3 separate regions of the Homo sapiens genome follow, and regions 1 and 2 are each linked to region 3. The links are contacts of gene promoters, found by promoter capture Hi-C in blood cells and fetal thymus (Javierre and others, 2016). All regions are on one chromosome and are shown on one strand. The core of a region is centred on a gene start or on the middle of the fragment in contact, and the rest is flanking DNA. Distances in the headings are between cores, read along the strand shown. Region 1 holds the start of ATF6 (activating transcription factor 6). Region 2 holds the start of DUSP12 (dual specificity phosphatase 12). Region 3 holds the start of ADAMTS4 (ADAM metallopeptidase with thrombospondin type 1 motif 4).

Region 1 (3,116 bases), core at 568-3,067, 570 kb before region 3:
ACACCCGTAATCCCAGCACTTTGGGAGGCCGAGGTGGGCGGATCACCTGAGGTCCAGAGCTCCAGACCAGCCTAACCAACATGGAGAAACCTCGTCTCTACTAAAAATACAAAATTAGCCGGGCGTGGTGGTGCATGCCTGTAATCCCAGCTACTCGGGAGGCTGAGGCAGGAGAATCGCTCAAACCCGAGTGGCGGAGGTTGCGGTGAGCCAAGATTGCGCCATTACACTCTAGCCTGGGCAACAAAAGCGAAACTCCATCTCAAAAAAAGAGGTAAAGAAAAGAAATGTCATGAAAATATAATAGCTGACTAGCTGACAAAATAAATCATAACTACCCAATATATTCAAGTAGTCTTATTAATAACCAGGGATCTTAGGAAGAATAAAATCTGTAGACATGAGTTAGGAAAGCATTATAGAATAGATGCTAGGGGTACAGACTTTGGAGGTAGAAAAACCTGGTCTGATCCTTCTTCTGCCACTAACTAGCTCTAAGAATCTGAGCACAAATTCTGTTAGCCTCAGTTTCCTCATCTCTAAAATAAACAGTACCTCATTGGACTGTTGGTAGGATTAAACAAAATACTTCATGTCAAGAGTTTAACAGGGTCCCTGACACAAAGAGCTAAATAAATGGTTACTGTCACTAATGCATTTGGCTTGGGAAAATGGGAATAAAAAATCTTAAGTTTTCCAGCAACTCTTAAAAAATCTACCCAAGGATTAAAATAAATCTCCAATAGAATATAGTTTTAGAGAACATCTGTCCTTGAAACAATTAAATGACTTTGTTCAATAAAAAGTTGAGATTCCTTCCACTCCTGCTATTGAGAATGCTGATCCAAGGGAGAAAGATAAACTGGGTTCCCCCCAGTTCCAAGGCTGATGAGTGGTGTAGGCTCACTAGCGGGCCCATTTGGGAACCTACACAATCCCAAATTCATATTGGAACCTAAGAACAATATTACTATTATATCTTGCAATCAAGAGGAGAATAAAAGTCTCCTCTAAATACTTAGATAACAAAGTTTCTTCATTCTCATTTCCACTTCATCCCATTCCACCCTTCCTGACCACCAAAACCAAACAAAATATCCATTAACAAGAAAATTAAGAGCTGTATCTGGAGAGCAGTCAGGATTACACCATAAGTATTAGGTGTAGCTAAGCAGGGACCCGAGGTCAGGTGCTTGGGTGTTTTGCTTTTCTGCCAAGACGGACATCAGGCTTAAACCAATAGTAAAAGCTGTAAGATTAGAATTTCTTGTATATAACCACATTCTCTCATATACACCAAACACACAAAAACCCACTCCATTGTGCTCACCGCCCACATTTCACACTCAGGAAATAGCTTGTAGCCTTTTTGGCGGTCCCAGCCATTTTGCTCTAAACCTCCTAAAGACGTCCAGTGTTAGCCACACAAAAAGATCACCCGGTACTTCCCCAGTGGGAATAGTGAAAAACGACAGTTAACTCCAGTTAGACAATATTCTACTCTCCCTGTGGCCAGGACAGAAGCCGAACGATACTCCCAGACTCTTCCAGGGGCACGAACAGGAGTGACGAGGGGCCTCACTCCCCAGGCAGGGTTGGTCCACACCTGTCACCACGAGTGGGCGGAAGTAGGGAGGAAGAAACCTTTAGACGCGAACCCGAGCCACCCTGGTACATTCTCAGATCCCACTCACCCCAATCTTCATCCAGCCTGTGAAAGAGTCCCGGGCTAAAAGGTGACTCCATGGTGCCGGCAACCCCAGCCGGCTCCCCCATTTCACAAGTTCCTTCTCCCTGGAACTCCGTGATTAATATCTGGGACGGCGGCGGCAGGCGGACAAAATACTCCGTAACGCTGACGAGACGGTGGCCTAGTAAAGACAAACTACTTTTGCCGCACGAGGGATTTGTACGACACAGGAAAACGTCAGAGACTAAGCAAATTTGAATAGACCTCTGAGTAAATATTTCCCTTTTGGAGTTTTCAGGACTTTCTGTCCCGCTGTTTTATGGGGAAGGCGGGGGAAGACACGCAGACATCAATTCGACTAAACAAAGTTTATCAATAATATTAAAAATAAAAAGTAAAGCCCCTTTCTGAACATTATGGCTTATTCCTTGATTATCCTTCTTAATGCCACAGCGTGGCTATCTCAGAACAAAATTAGAGACTAACAGTAAATTTACTTTAATTTTTACGAATAATTCTCTATCAATGTAAAAATTTTTCATATACGCGTGTATGAAAGAAAAACACTACTATTTTTCCACATTCGTGAAAACTGCTTAACTGGGACAGTAACCGAGGTAAGTGGTACTATAAAACATACTTCTAGAAAGACTACTTTTATTTAAATAAATTGAAACAAAGCAAATATAAAAAGATAAACCCCCCAAATTTATCTCCTAAAGATAAATTTCTAAAGCATAGTATTTAGTCAAAGTCCAAGCGAGTCTACCCTAAGACCTACAGTAATCGAAGTTCCCAATATTTGTATTACTAAAGATTCGGGTTTTATTTAAAGGAAAATCACATACATCACGAACTCCAACTGAAAATATGAACTGAGTTTGATAAAGCAGTTTCAAGAACGCTACTTAAGAGAATTTCTTTTTCATCCATTTTAAATTTCAGCGGCCAGTGAATATTTAAAATACTGTAACCGACGAATACGTATGCTTCTAGGACCACGTGGAATCTTTCCCATGGTAGGTAAGCAAAACAAATGTGCTTCCCAGAACCCTCCAAACTGCTCGTGGGTATATTACTACAGATTACATAATGCAGCAGCGTTCCGGGACGCAAGCCCAGAAAAAGATAATTAAATCCCCTTACGTCAGATGTAACTACTTTTGTCATTAGAAAACTAATAAATTTTCACTTAAGGTGAAATTTATAACACTTTAATTCTCACCCAATTACAAATTCAAAAATTGACATAAAAAACTAAAATAAGGCCGGGCGCGGTGGCTCACGCCTGTAATCCCAGCACTTTGGGAGGCCGAGGCGGGCGGATCACGAGGTCAGGAGTTCGAGACCAGCCTGGCCAACATAGTGAAACCCTGTCTCCACTAAAAATACAAAAAGTTAGCCAGGCGTGGTGGCGGGCAAGTAG
Region 2 (3,116 bases), core at 511-3,010, 550 kb before region 3:
CCCATTGCCTCTGAAATATTATCAAGGTACAAAATAATTATTCCTTTTTCCTTTTGAATTCTGAACCACGTGAATCTATTACCTATTCAAAAATAATAACAGTAATTTTTAAAATTTTTATAATGGCTCAGAACAAATCCAAACTCCTGGCTAGACACAGTGGCTTACCTACGCCTGAAATCCCAGCACTTTGGGAGGCGAGGTGAGAGGATTGGTTGAGTCCAAGAGTTGGAGACCAGCCTGGGCAACAAAGTGAGACCCCACCTCTACAAAAAATTAGCCGGATGTGGTGGGGTCTGTAGTCCCAGCTACTCTGGAGGCCGAGGCAGGAGGTTCACTTGAGCCTGGGAGGTTGAGACTGCAGTGAGCCGTAATTACGCTACTACACTGTAGCCTGGGTGACAGAGCAAGACCCTATATCAAAATAAAAATAAATAAAACAAAACAAAAACAAATCCAATCTCCTTTCATCTTAGCATTCAGGGACCTCAAAATCTGGTCCCAGACTTCTTTTGATTTCATCACTATCTTCTTTTATGTGCTCAATAAATTTAAACGATTATTATACTCCAATCCAACCAAGAACTGCTTAGGGATTCCCATTTTCTTTTTTTGGGGGGAGGGATGGAGTCTCGCTCTGTTGCCCAGGCTGGAGTGCTGTGGCATGACCTCGGCTCACTGCAACCTCCGCCTCCCAGGTTCAAGTGATTCTCCTGCCTCAGCCTCCCGAGTAGCTGGGACTACAGGCGAGAGCCACCACGCCCGGCTAATTTTTGTATTTTTGGTTTCACCATATTAGCCAGCCTGATCTCGAACTCCTCACCTTGTGATCCTCCTGCCTCCCAAAGTGCTGGGATTACAGGCGTGAGCCACCGCGCCCTGCGGGATTCCCATTTTCTTTTTGTCTTTGCTGCAACCATCTCCTCCCTAGGCAAAGCCCAGGGATCCTTTAGATCCAAACCAATTCATCTCTTCATCAACCACCCGCCACCCATCCCAAACAAAAACATTTAACCCTAAATCTTTGTAAATCCCGTTTACAAGACACCAAGCAACCTAATCTGCATTACAATAATCGGGGTGGGTGTCTAGCTTCTCCAACAGAGCTGTAAACTCCTTAGGGTGTAGGTAATTTGTCATTTATCAGATGACACCTCCCCCGCCCTCTGCTGCTGCAGGAAGAACCAACTAAAGCATGAATGAATGAAAGCCTGCACACACCAGGGGCCCGCCTCAACCCTCCTCCTCTCTTGGAAACACGCCTCCTGCGGGAGGCAGCGGGAGGAGGTTCACGCGGCATGACCGCGCTCTTGTCCTCCCGACGGCCTCGGAAGGTAAGGGGCGACGGGGGCCGGCTGGAAGCTTGGCGGGGCACGTCACCCACTGACCCGGCCACTCACCAGTGCACCAACACCGCACGGCCCTCAGCGCGGGCCTGACCGATGAAGGCCACGCACCGGTCCAGATGGCTGAGTAGGTCCGTCTCGGGTTTGTCCAGCGCTGGCACGAAGAGGCGCCATAGATCCTCGACCCCAGGCCCCGCCTTGAAGCTGGGCTCCTCCGAGTCCACTGTTAGCACGGCCGTGATGCCCGCTTCCCTCAGGTGATCTGGCTCCGCGACGGCCGCGGCCCCACCGAAATACAATCCTGGCTGCACTTCCAGCATCTGCCCGGCACAGCTGACTCTGCTGGCGCTGGGGTTGCTGAGCTCGCAGCCATCACTCGGGCCCGGAGCCTCCAACATGGCCGCGCCCAGAGACAAGGCGGCTTCCTGCCCTACCATCGAGTAGACTCCGGCTAGAACATCCTTCCCCTGGGACTCGCCAGCCTCGGCGGCTCTGCTGCTCCCTCGGAGGACCACGTCGGCCGCAGGAATCTGGACTTATCGCTGAGGGGCGGAGCTTCGGCCCCATTCAGCGCGGCCTTTCCACCCTTGTTCCCTCTGACCCCTACCCCCAAAGTTGATGGTGAAGGATAAGCTTCCCCAAATACAGGGTTTCTCGAGCTCTTAGTATTGAAATTTTCAGGAAAGAGACATCAGGAGCAGCTGAACTCAAATGTGAAATAAATGTCGCACCAGCTGAATCAGAAGCATCATTTTATGCATTTGAAGTAAAATTTTTTTCAATATTATGGAGCCATCTTTACTGTGCATTTCATGATTATTTTTCCTTTTTCTGCCCAATTTCATTATTGGGGTGTGAATCCTTGTTGATGTTTACTGTCTATTTATTTTGAAGATACTAATCCTATATTTTTGTAAGTCAATGTCCTCCGGCCAGGACTACAAGAAACCAACTTTAATTAAGCAAGTTGGTTTTATTACTCAGTCATGAGTTATGGAGAATTTCAGGGCATCTCAGCACGAGGATGTTAGGAAGATCCTCTACAGATTTTGGGCTTTTATTTGGGGATTTTGGAAAGGGTTGAAGGAAGCAGGCTTTGCTCCAGACTGAATGCTGCAGGAAGATACTCAGTACAGTGAGTATATTTTATATATCTTTTGTATAGGGAGGACAGGTGAGAGAGATACTAAAGCTGTAATTGGTCAAGAAGTAGCAGCTATAGTACTGGTATAAAGATAGATACATCGACGTGTCTCTATTCTGGAACAGAACAAACCCTTGCGTGTGGAGTCCTAATTAGGGAAAAGGAGTCAGGCTGGCTGGACGAAGGGAAGCAAAAGGAGAAAGCAGACAAGCCATAAGTCTGCCTTTCTTCGTGGTCCAGGACACATAGCCCTGCTGTGCAAATAACTCACAATCTGCCTGTGCCCAGCCATCACCAGACCCTCAGCTGATAGAAAAATGGAAGTTAGTTCACTGCAACCCTGGCATTATTAGTACTGCACAAAGCCCTCTTCCACCCACAACATAAGCACCATTCTACAAAATCCCCAGCAAGCCTTTGTTTCCTAGCAGTCAGCTTCTCTCTTGCTGACCTGCCTGTTGCACCCTTGCAATGTATTTTCATACTTTATCTAATAAACCTGCCTTTCTTTACCTACAACTGTGTTGGTAAATTCTTCCTACCACCCATGTCACCAGCCCAGAAAGCTGCTAATCACCTGCAACACTGCATATATGTTAGAATAATCTTCAAAAAGAGTGCCAAGA
Region 3 (3,465 bases), core at 162-2,661:
GGAAAGGAAAGAGACTGCTGACTGCACTCTCCTTCCTGGGGATTTCCTGGGGAAACAAGCAGCCAGAGGATGGGGTGAGCAGAAATTGCCCCTACTTCTGAACCCTTCCTTGCCTTGAGAGTTCATACCCAAGACCTCTTTTCCGAGTTCCCTCCTATCCAAAGCCAAAGGAATAATTTGCTTCCTTTCCCTAACACCACCTCTTCCTCCCCAGCCACTTTCCCCACCCCAGGCAATGGATTTCTCCCAGTACCCTAATTTCCCTATATGCACAATGCTGTCTCCACCCTCTCCCTGCCCCAGGGAGAATTAAAAAGAAAAGATGACTAGATATTCCAGGAACCACTGGGTTCTCAGAGCAAGGTGGGGTGGATGGTGGGAGCCAGGTGGGGATTCTCCCAGATTGATACTGGGTGAATCTGGGTTCCTGAGAGCAAGTCTTGCCTATGCTGGGGGCTGGCTGACTTGAGGCTGGGGGAGGGTTTAGGGCAGTTGGGAGTGGGTAGGAGCAGGGCCAAAAGCCTGGGGGAAGCTACTGGGAGCTGGGCCAGGGAAATGGGGAGTCAGGAAGTGGGGAGGGGGAACCCTGGGGGGAAATGGAGGCGGAATGGCTGTTCTGGGCTTTGGAGGGGGTGGGTAGTGGTAACTCAGGAAGGGGGATCCTGAGGGAGAGAAGGGACGTTAGAAAAGAGGAGGTGCCACCCTGGATCCGCCTTCTATAAAAGGAAAAGTCGTTAACCCCTCCTGCCTTGTCATCTGCCGCCTCTGTTATGTTCATTCCAAGCAGGATCATCCTACCTTTGGGCAGTCAACTCCCTGATCACTGTCTCCTTGCCTCCCCCAATGTTCTGCCTTTTTTACTCTTCCCAGCTGCTCAGTTCTATCCTGAGCCATGTCAAGCTACCTCTTTTATTTGTTCTTCCCTCTTGATGCCTCCTTACCTGTTCCCTACCCTCTTTTCTCAGGCAGCTCACTCAGTCCCCTCAGCCCTGGAAACCAGCCACTAGGGCCAAAGGGCAGCATGAGGGAGCCTTGAGAAAAGAGAAGCCATGGTAGGTTAGACTATAAGAGCAGGAATTCTCCCAGGACCGTGATCCTATCTGTGCATGCCGGCCAGGCCCTTTCCCTCACTCTCTGCCTCTCCTGGGGCTCTGTCCCACCAAAAAGGGAAAGAGACAGCTGAGGGCTGATTGTGGGGTTTGGGAAAAGGCTATGTCATCAGCTGGCCCAGTGCCTATTATCCATTCGGCTGCTAGAGATTCCCCTCCCCTGGGCAAGTCCCATTTTTTTGGGAAGCGATGATACACCCATCTGAGTCCCACCGACAGAGCTCAGCTGAGTGGCTTAGAGATCAGCCAATCAATCGCAGAGGCTCACCATGCTTAAAAGAGCTGGCGCGGAGAGAGGCTGGGGAGAACCCACAGGGAGACCCACAGACACATATGCACGAGAGAGACAGAGGAGGAAAGAGACAGAGACAAAGGCACAGCGGAAGAAGGCAGAGACAGGGCAGGCACAGAAGCGGCCCAGACAGAGTCCTACAGAGGGAGAGGCCAGAGAAGCTGCAGAAGACACAGGCAGGGAGAGACAAAGATCCAGGAAAGGAGGGCTCAGGAGGAGAGTTTGGAGAAGCCAGACCCCTGGGCACCTCTCCCAAGCCCAAGGACTAAGTTTTCTCCATTTCCTTTAACGGTCCTCAGCCCTTCTGAAAACTTTGCCTCTGACCTTGGCAGGAGTCCAAGCCCCCAGGCTACAGAGAGGAGCTTTCCAAAGCTAGGGTGTGGAGGACTTGGTGCCCTAGACGGCCTCAGTCCCTCCCAGCTGCAGTACCAGTGCCATGTCCCAGACAGGCTCGCATCCCGGGAGGGGCTTGGCAGGGCGCTGGCTGTGGGGAGCCCAACCCTGCCTCCTGCTCCCCATTGTGCCGCTCTCCTGGCTGGTGTGGCTGCTTCTGCTACTGCTGGCCTCTCTCCTGCCCTCAGCCCGGCTGGCCAGCCCCCTCCCCCGGGAGGAGGAGATCGTGTTTCCAGAGAAGCTCAACGGCAGCGTCCTGCCTGGCTCGGGCGCCCCTGCCAGGCTGTTGTGCCGCTTGCAGGCCTTTGGGGAGACGCTGCTACTAGAGCTGGAGCAGGACTCCGGTGTGCAGGTCGAGGGGCTGACAGTGCAGTACCTGGGCCAGGCGCCTGAGCTGCTGGGTGGAGCAGAGCCTGGCACCTACCTGACTGGCACCATCAATGGAGATCCGGAGTCGGTGGCATCTCTGCACTGGGATGGGGGAGCCCTGTTAGGCGTGTTACAATATCGGGGGGCTGAACTCCACCTCCAGCCCCTGGAGGGAGGCACCCCTAACTCTGCTGGGGGACCTGGGGCTCACATCCTACGCCGGAAGAGTCCTGCCAGCGGTCAAGGTCCCATGTGCAACGTCAAGGCTCCTCTTGGAAGCCCCAGCCCCAGACCCCGAAGAGCCAAGGTAGGCATCTCTGGAGTCTGTGTCCTGCGGTGTCCTCCCGCCATGTCTGTCCTACTGACCCCTATTCACCCTCTCTCCACCCACTTACACTTCTGGCCGTTCTGCTTCCCTCCCTTCTGCCTGCCTTTCCTTTCTCCATGAGCCTCCTTTCTTGGTAAGGCTCAGGCCTCTCCCCTTCACCCTTCTCCTAGCCAGACCCACCGAGGGTTCTCAGAGGTGGGTCACAGACTCTGGGCTGGGAATAACTGCTCCCTCTCCCCACCCCACCCCTTCCTGGCCATGGCATCTCCTACTGACACAGTCCCCAGCAGTAAAGGTCTCCTAACAGCCCCTTGGCCTTGGCTCTTTTCTCTGCTCCAAATTTGATTTTCATCCCCCACTCCCAGCTATAGGAGTCAGGTTTGAGGCCCTAGGGCTTGGTGTCTGGCTTCTGATGCTGCCTTTAAAATCACTGTGGCAAACTGCAAACTAGGGCAGGAGTGGCAAGAGAGGGAGGGTATCCCATACCTCCTTCTGGTCAATCCCCTTCACACACTGTGGCCGGACTGCGAGGCTGCCTGAGGCTCCATCCTTTCCTCCCTCCCACTCCTGGTCTCCCCCTTCTTCCCTTCCCTCCTCCCTCCTCCCTCTCTAGCTTTAATCCAGACCAGACGCTCCCTCCACAACCGCCACGCTGAGCTCTGGCCCTGGCCCTAGCTGCTGACTGAATCGTTCCTCCAACCACACAGGGCAGACACGTTGCAGCCCAGCCCTCTAGCCCTGGTCCCATAGGCCCCAGCCACACTCAGGCCTGGAGAACCCCAAAGTCCCTCCTGACGGCAGTCCAGGCTGCTTTCACCTCTGGGGCTCCCGCAGCCCTGGGATGTGGCGTCCCCTTCTCCTCCCCTTCTTAGAACCAGCTGCTGACTCCTCAGAGTTACCACAAAAGCCCTGAGATTTGGCGTTGGGGGAAGGGCCCAACCAAGACCCGCCAGGAGTCAGGAATCCCGTGGGGT

What was found. The method cuts DNA at HindIII sites, captures the fragments that hold promoters and counts their contacts. A CHiCAGO score of 5 or more calls a contact.
Region 1: the fragment with the promoter of ATF6 here is called in contact with the fragment with the promoter of ADAMTS4 in region 3 in 1 of 17 cell types (neutrophils); the score reaches 5.8 in neutrophils.
Region 2: a contact is called between the fragment with the promoter of DUSP12 here and the fragment with the promoter of ADAMTS4 in region 3, in 7 of 17 cell types (erythroblasts, naive B cells, neutrophils and 4 more). The highest score is 7.7, in erythroblasts.

The regions. Positions count from the first base shown.
Region 1 is chr1:161,765,021-161,768,136 of GRCh38, reverse strand. ATF6 (activating transcription factor 6) reads right to left here and starts at 1,817. Exons shown (of 16, transcript NM_007348.4): 1 at 1,695-1,817. The coding sequence starts at 1,776. ATF6-DT (ATF6 divergent transcript) reads left to right here and starts at 1,990. Exons shown (of 3, transcript NR_187280.1): 1 at 1,990-2,307; 2 at 2,636-2,713. It overlaps LOC124904444 (a long non-coding RNA gene), which reads right to left and starts at 1,688. Exons shown (of 2, transcript XR_007066695.1): 1 at 1,331-1,688. RefSeq lists enhancers at 1,810-1,889, 1,920-1,999. The HindIII fragment of the contact is 8,902 bases long and covers 1-3,116 here.
Region 2 is chr1:161,748,430-161,751,545 of GRCh38, reverse strand. It overlaps DUSP12 (dual specificity phosphatase 12), which reads right to left and starts at 1,760. Exons shown (of 6, transcript NM_007240.3): 1 at 1,401-1,760. The coding sequence starts at 1,744. RefSeq lists enhancers at 744-1,390, 1,452-1,961. The HindIII fragment of the contact is 617 bases long and covers 1,365-1,981 here.
Region 3 is chr1:161,197,000-161,200,464 of GRCh38, reverse strand. It overlaps ADAMTS4 (ADAM metallopeptidase with thrombospondin type 1 motif 4), which reads left to right and starts at 1,411. Exons shown (of 9, transcript NM_005099.6): 1 at 1,411-2,470. The coding sequence starts at 1,838. It also overlaps a transcript of NDUFS2 not described here. RefSeq lists enhancers at 1-146, 2,672-3,465. The HindIII fragment of the contact is 11,321 bases long and covers 1-3,465 here.